2 separate regions of the Homo sapiens genome follow, and region 2 is linked to region 1. Evidence: promoter capture Hi-C in 16 types of primary human blood cells and fetal thymus (Javierre and others, 2016). All regions are on one chromosome and are shown on one strand. The core of a region is centred on a gene start or on the middle of the fragment in contact, and the rest is flanking DNA. Distances in the headings are between cores, read along the strand shown. Region 1 holds the start of SMC2 (structural maintenance of chromosomes 2). Region 2 holds the start of SLC44A1 (solute carrier family 44 member 1).

Region 1 (3,646 bases), core at 570-3,069:
TGATAAAAGGAAGGAGACACAGCTCAAAGTTAATGTGTAAGAGTTAACAGAATCAATACAAGTGAATAGCTGTGGAGCCCAGGGGATGCAGGAATCAAGGCAGACAAAGATATCTGTTGAATTAAATTAATGTTAGGTCACTACCCATGGTTGACATCACAGAAGTGGATAAGCATACCAGAGTAAACAAAGGAATCCTTTCTTAAACAAAAAACCCATACAACTTATTTTACTCCCTTATCGAGAAATATTTTCAAAATATAAGCCCATTCCTGGTAGGTTAAGACCAATTCAGATGACTGCATTGCCATTCCAGGGCCAAGAAAGCAACTTTAAAAACATGACCTACGCTATGGTCTAAATGTGTCCCTCAAAATGCACATTTTGAAATCCTAACTCCCGAACTGACGGTTTTAGCAAGTGGCATCTTGGGAAGTGAGGAATGGGATTAAGGTCCTTATAAAATAGGCCCAAGCGAGGGCCTCTGCCTCTCCACCATGCGAGGACAGAGCCAGAAGGTGCTATCCACTAAAGAGAAAGCACCCCTCCCTAGACACACCTTATTCTGTGACATTCCAGCCTTCAGAAATGTGAAGAATAAACTTCTGTGGTTCATAAACTACCCAGTCTAGGATATTTTGTTATGGAAGCCCAAAAGGATCAAGCCATTCCAAAATAGCATTGTTGCCCACACCATCTTTTTGAACCTCACTTAGGGTAACACCATACCCATTCGGAGTTAAGCCCTTCCTAACTCTTAAGTATCAACGTGCTTGGAAACGTGAGCAATCCTGACACGTTTTTTCTTCCTAAAGAACAATACATACTAATAATAGGATCGGCTAATAATACTAGATTCTATGCATGAAGCCTAGTATTTAAAAGCATGCAATCTGGAGCTAGACCGCCTGGGAACAAATCCCAGCTTACTAGACAAGCTGTTTAACCTTTTACTTGGTCTCATTTAACTCATTTGTAAAACGAGGGCAATTTCTGATTTCATAGGGTTGCTACGTGGATTTTAAAAAGCCCCTTGCAATATAGCCTAATATTCAGAACTCAATAACATGAACTGTCTTAAAAGGTTTCCAGAAAAAATCCCCAACAGGTTAGGTCGGCTTATCATTACAACGCTTTCCGGTATAAGGGAGATGAATAGCTATTTAGCACCACACAATTTCTCCTCTGGGCTCGGAACAGCTCTCGGTAGACTACGATCCCTTTCCGACGTGGAAACTTCAGATAAAAACGCTCCCCGAGGTCCGAGGCCAGTACGGGGCGGAGCCAGGACGCGGGCCAGAGTCCCCCGAAGGACGGTGCCTCTCTGGCCCCAAGAAGTACAGCTTTTATTTTGCAGCAATCTGAGCCAACCCGAGAAGATTCTGAAGCTTCCAAAACAGAACCGACGAGAACACTCATAGAATGCCTCTCCACTTCCTAACTGTCGCTTTGAGGAGAGAAAAGTAAGCCACAGCCAGCACCGCAGACTGGAGAAGGCGGAGTCTGCAGTGTGCCTAACGCGAACTAGAGGGACCGAGGCGGGGCGGGGCTGGCGAAGCGCGAGGACCCGGGGCCGAGGTGTGGGGCTGACCATAGAGTGCCGGACGCCGGTGTGAACATACACTATCTGCTCCTGTAGTGCCCAGGCCCCTGCCGGGGAGTCCCCGGAGCTACCATTATCGAGACTCTCATTCTATTGCCCTGCGGCTTTAATCCTTCGAGTGTAGGGGAAAAATTGAACCCTAAAGACAGGCAGCTCCTAGGCACCAGCACAGGAAATAAGCAATGGAGGTGGGGTCCTTTGCTCGCGCCGAAATTCAAAGGAATAAATAGTTCCGGCGCGGGTGTTGAGAGCGGTGTGGCAGGTGTTGTAGCCGCTATGGTGAAGTTCGCTTTGTAGCGGCCCCGGCTAGAGAGTTGTTCTGTTCCCTGCCTTTGTGACCCGGAGGAGCTTTTGGGGTGCGTCAAGCCCCTGGCCTGAGGCAGCGGTGAGGCGTGTGCGTGAGCACGGCCGGTTGGGCCGGGCCAGACTTCCTGGCGGGAGGCGGGAGGCGGGAGGCGGGGCGCGGGGCGCGGGGGCTGTAGGGAGGGGGACCAGTGGCAGAGGGACCTTAGGTGATCCTTAGAAATAAAGGCTAGCTTCTGTTCGACCTTGGAGTAGGGCGAAGAGGTGTAGACAGGCCTGGAGAAGCGAGGTAAAAGCCTGAGTAAAAGCAAGAAGTTGGAGAATATGAGATACATCTCATCTCTAGTAAATACTTAAATGACTTCCCCTCCTCCCGGAGTCAAGCACAATTCGGGGATGCAATGACGGACGTAGGTGAAGACACTGCGGGAACTTACAGACAAGTAATGACCGTCTAATATCAGCTTTAAGTACCATGAAGGAAAAAGAAAGCCGAGTGAAGGATTGTGGAGAGGTGACATAGGGAGGTCAGGGAGGACTCCAGTAAGGTGACATTTGAGCAAAGACGTGAGTGCAGTAGAGAGTAAGCTATGTCAGTATCAGAGAAAAGCACATTATAGGCAAAGATAATGGGATATGTAATAATCCATAGTCTTTGTTTAGGTAGAGTATGATAAAAGTAGAAGGCAAGCCTGGAAAAACGGGTAGAAGAAATAGTTAAGACTTCCCAGTTGAATGGTTTAATTTCCAGATAGTGGCTAACTCTGGTATATTTTTGAGTAGATGAACGATGTCTTTACATCAGACAAGATAGTTTGTCAAGTGGCTGTTTTATTTCTATCACCCTATCGTTGCTGTTTTTGCCTCGTGTTCATTATGATTCCAGGTTTACATTCCACTTAGGTGGTGGTATTTCTGTTTCGTACAGAACTGGTTTGTGGCCTGTTTGATTCCTGTCAGAGGTTTGCTGACCCAAGACAGTATCGAAAATGCATATTAAGTCAATTATTCTAGAGGGATTCAAGTCCTATGCTCAGAGGACCGAAGTCAATGGTTTTGACCCCCTCTTCAATGCTATCACTGGCTTAAATGGTAGTGGGAAATCCAACATATTGGACTCCATCTGCTTTTTGCTGGGCATCTCCAACCTGTCTCAGGTAAAGTGTAAACTTTCTGATTTATTTGAATTTAAGTTGGCAGGAGAATCCTCACTGAACTTTGGAGACGTCCCGATATTCTCTTCATTTGTGTTTTTATACTTTTTGTAAATTACACCTCACTGCAACCTTTTAAGGAAAGTAATATTACTCCTTTAGATGAGAAAATAGAAACTTAGAGATGTTTAGAAGTAACAGTGCCTCAAAACTCAGGCATTCTGACTGTAAAGCAGTCTCATTCCAGAGTATTTTCAACCCTGTGTAATGATGCCTTTTCAAATCCTATTAATGGATTGAATGACTAGTGAAAATCTTTGGGACAGTATTTCCTTATATCTTGCAAAGTAACTTTTTATTAAAAAATGAATAGGAAACAATTCAATTCAGGGTTGAAAAGGTTCTGTAGAGAAAAGTGTCCATTGCAGGTTGTTGCCTATTTTCCTTGTTTTTCTTGCCAGAGGATGCAGCTGCCTAACCTTGTCTACTTAATGGACACTACGTTGGTGGGTTTTCCAACAGCAAGGGACCCATTTTTAGTGCTGCTTTGTACGGTAGGGAGTTTTGTAATTGTTACACTTTTCAT
Region 2 (3,875 bases), core at 1,165-3,664, 1.2 Mb after region 1:
AGGCTTTTTTTGGGCATGAGGGGGATGGGAAAGAGACTCATTCTTAGAAGGTACAGCATATCAATGCAAGAGCTGTTAGTTTCCCTCATGCTAATGACGAAGTATAATTTTGAAACATCAGATTCATATGCATATATGGTGCATACATACATAATTGGTGTATTTACAAAGCACCTTGCAGAATCTTAGAACTCTTAGTTCTATTAACACTTAAAGGGAAAACCAGAGTGCAGATCAGTCAAGCACAACGGACTGTAGTTGCTTTCAATTATATTCACCCATTATCTATGTCTAGGAAAGAGATCTCTAAAAAAGCAAAATACATTTTATGAAGCACTGCCACAGTCTGTTACGCATTTATCTCCTTCTACAGTTCCAATTACAGAATAAGCACTAGCTACTACACGGAACGGCAGCACTAGCCAAAAAGATTTTTCTAATCTGAGAGAAATGCTCCCATATTGACTCTGCAAAGAGAAACAACTCCCCTTTCCTTGACTATAAAGAAGGAAGACAGATGGCTTCTTGTTTAGGACTGTAGTTTTACTTTCAGCCTCCTCCCCGAGTTAAAAACAAGATGTACTTTTCTGGCTTTGAGGGAAAATCTCAAGGGAATGTTTTTTATTCTTGGCTGCACTGAATAATTCAACAAACATTTGAGAGAGCTGAGGGAGATACAAAGGAGAAAATACTTTTCCTTGTTCTCAGGGAGTTTACAATCTAATTCTGGAGTTTACAACCAGAATTGGGACTAGAACCATTAGTTTTATGTCTTCACTTGTATTTATTGGTTTAATGGTTATGGGAAACACATGTAGGATTCGCCAGCTCCGTGGTATGGTGGACCCTCTGATTAACCTGAAAGGAAACTAGAAAGAATGCAGAAGAATTCAAGATCTCAATCAGTTGAGTACTTGCTGACCTAGCAGCACTTTCTTATGTTATTTAATCTTGACCACAAGCCTTTGCAGTCATCCCTGCTACCAGCATTTCACAGAAGCGGACAATGAGATTTGGAGAGATAACTCGTCCACAGTCACGAACTCAGGAAATGGCATAGGAAAACATCAATTAGGAATTCTTCTTCCCTGGCCCTTTCTGTAGCTGTCCCCTTACAGGCTACCATTCCAACTTTCCTTGGCTTAGATTCCCTTTCAGTGCATGTAAAGTCAATTTAATTCTGTGTTCTTTTCTTCCCTCTATACTTTAACTAATCTTTAAAACTTGATGTCTCATATTTGGTGAATCAGTCCTTTTGGAAGTCTCACTCCCTTGCAGCTTTGCAAATAAAGTTTTTCTTTTCTTTCCTGTGGCTGTCTTTTGAGACATTCTTTGACAAGATGAAATGACATATGAAGGCTATAACAGTGCCTGATAATGTGGGGTTTTTTTTAACATCATTATCTTTAGTTTTATTTCTTTCACTTTTTAACTGTTTTCACCTCATACTGTATTTCCTAACGACTCGTTTGGAATTGTAAATTTCTTGAAGGTAGTTACCACGTCTACTCTAACTTGTTGCTACTTCCTTGAGTCTTACTGATTTAGCAACAGGAACTTGGTAAGTCTCTTTTGCTCGCCTCTTTATTCCCAGTACTAGTCACTGGAACGTAGTGTGTCTTCAGTAAGTATTTTTAATATGAATAAATTAATGTCCCCTTATTGTTTTTTGTAGACTATCCTGTATAAGAAAGTTTAGCTTAGATCCAGTATGGCTTTGACTTGCGAGCCTGGATAACTTTTTGCCTTTTCCTCATTTCTGGCTATTTATTACCATTTCAACCTTGGGAACATTTCATTAGGTTCTTGGTCCCTTTCAAGCCTCAGTTTCCACATCAGCAAAATGGGGACAGTAGCAACAGATGCTTGTTTCTTCCCGTCTTCTTATCACCTATTCCTTCTCCAGGAAAGGTTTCTTGTGTACGCTTTCCTCTGGAGAAAAAAAACAGCCGACGGGGCGGTAAGAAGCCATCAGGATCCTGAGTTGTGCGTCCAGTAGGGAGAGGGAGAAGTCCCGCTTGCCTCCTAGATCCGGAAGCAATCCGGCCCCTTTTTGGCAGCGAGTTGGCCCGGTCTTTGGCTGCCTCAGACCGCGTTGCCCTCCAGCCTCGAGGCAGAGAGCTGCCTCGGTGCCACAGCTAAATAAGCCCGGCGCCGCGCAGCCTCTGACACGCGCGGAAGGGCCCGGCCTTGTTCTGGCTGCCGCCGCCCTGCCACCAGCACGGCGCTGCACTGGGGGCGGGGAGTCTGATGGGAGACGCGCGCGGCGCTGAGGAGGCGGCGGCCCGGGAGAGGGAGCGGGAGAGGGACTGGGCGCGGGAGGCGGGAGGCGGGGGGACAGAGGGAGGCGCCGCCGCCGCCGCCGCCCGCCCCTTTCCGCTGGGGAGCAGCTGCTGCAGCAGGAGCAGAGCAGGAGACGCGTAGCCGCCGTCGCCGCCGCCGGGGGATGTGGCCGGCGCCTGCCTCTAGCCGCGCCGCCTCTTGAGTACCAGCCGCCGCTGCAGCCGCCGCCGCCGCCTAGCCGTGCGGTGCCAGGCCGCGCCCTCCCCGGGCGCCCGCCGGCTCGCATGCCGAGGGGCTCCGGGGCGTAGCTGCGCGCCCGGCGCCGCCTCCGGGCTCCTTCGGCCCCGCCATGGGCTGCTGCAGCTCCGCCTCCTCCGCCGCGCAGGTGAGGGGCTCCCGCCTCCCGGCCGCCCGCCCGGATGCCTCCCGTGCGCCGCGTCGCGCGGCGGGCGCCCGCCGCCCGATACCTCTCGCTGTCCCCAGCCTCCCCTGAGCGCACCGTGCAGTCCAAAGACCCCCACTCCGCCTTTCCGTCCGCCGGGTCCCGCCGATGCCCGTGCGCTGGCTCCGCGGCTGCCGACTCAAAGGCGCCTCTGCGCGGCGCCTAGTGCGCCCTCAGCTCTTCCCGGCCCCTTCCCCAGTCGGCCCCCTCCTCCCAGTCACACCTGAGCTGCCCGTCCCGCCCGCCTGCAGGTAGAGGCTGCACTGGCGCCTCCTCTGCCCCAGGTGGCATCCCCTTCCCTGTTCTTCCGGGCCTGGCTCCTCTCTTCCACCTCCGTGGAGTCTCCCCGCCATCCGCCGCCCGTTTTCTGTGCTCCTCGCAGGTGTACCCCCAGCAAGAGCTCTTCACCTCTCCCACCGAATTCCAGTTTCTGCTTCATTAGATATTCTGTCCCTTTTCTCTTGCCCGCTGCCCCCTGGCTGGGTTCAGATGGTTTCAGCGGGTCCCGGAGCCCTTCCACGGCCCGCTCCGCAGACCTCGCTTGCTCGCTTGCACCCCATCCCCCCTTAGTGCCGTGACCCGGGCCCCGCGGCCTCCCCGCACTCGGAGGCCCCTGCGGGAGCGCCGACTCTGGGCTGGGAAGGAGATTGGGCACCTGGTGGGTGACGGGAGCGCTACGGAAACTCCCTCTTTGTTGCCAGTGTAACAGGAGGAAGAGGTTCCGAATTTAGTTTTTCTGTGGGCACTGGCTGAATGTTGTCGCTGAGGGCTGAGATGCAGAGATTTCTCTCAGCTTCTACCCTGCCCCCATCCAAATTTCGCCAACCTCCTTCTCTCGGATCCGAGCCCTTAACCTGGGTGGAAATGTTTAGACAACTGTACGAGGATCAAATGTAATAGAACTCGACTACTGGCCACTAATAACTGAGAGGACCTGTTTGTAAATTACCTAATTTAGTGGATTAGCGAGTGTATTTACAAATACTATAAAAAGCAATCAGGAATACTGCATCAAACTGTCTTGTGGTGGTGTATGAAAAATAGGCTCTGACAACGCCTGGGATGTAATCTCACAGTTTCATTAGCGTAGTTTCATTAACTGTGGTCTGTGATTTGTTTGTTTTAGGGGGCAGAAAAGGGCTCTTGTTTT

Evidence for each region. Contacts are between HindIII fragments. The CHiCAGO score rates a contact against its expected background, and 5 or more counts as called.
Region 2: a contact is called between the fragment with the promoter of SLC44A1 here and the fragment with the promoter of SMC2 in region 1, in 4 of 17 cell types (total CD8 T cells, activated CD4 T cells, total B cells and 1 more). The highest score is 9.2, in total CD8 T cells.

Annotation. Positions count from the first base shown.
Region 1 is chr9:104,092,490-104,096,135 of GRCh38, forward strand. SMC2 (structural maintenance of chromosomes 2) reads left to right here and starts at 1,820. Exons shown (of 25, transcript NM_006444.3): 1 at 1,820-1,988; 2 at 2,835-3,063. The coding sequence starts at 2,896. RefSeq lists enhancers at 1,103-1,772, 1,235-1,554, 1,773-2,440. The HindIII fragment of the contact is 5,032 bases long and covers 1,387-3,646 here.
Region 2 is chr9:105,242,237-105,246,111 of GRCh38, forward strand. SLC44A1 (solute carrier family 44 member 1) reads left to right here and starts at 2,415. Exons shown (of 16, transcript NM_080546.5): 1 at 2,415-2,668. The coding sequence starts at 2,633. LOC112268038 (a long non-coding RNA gene) reads right to left here and starts at 3,357. Exons shown (of 3, transcript XR_002956866.2): 1 at 2,783-3,357. RefSeq lists enhancers at 2,057-2,961, 2,962-3,865 and silencers at 2,188-2,787, 2,798-2,937, 3,278-3,357. The HindIII fragment of the contact is 7,272 bases long and covers 1-3,875 here.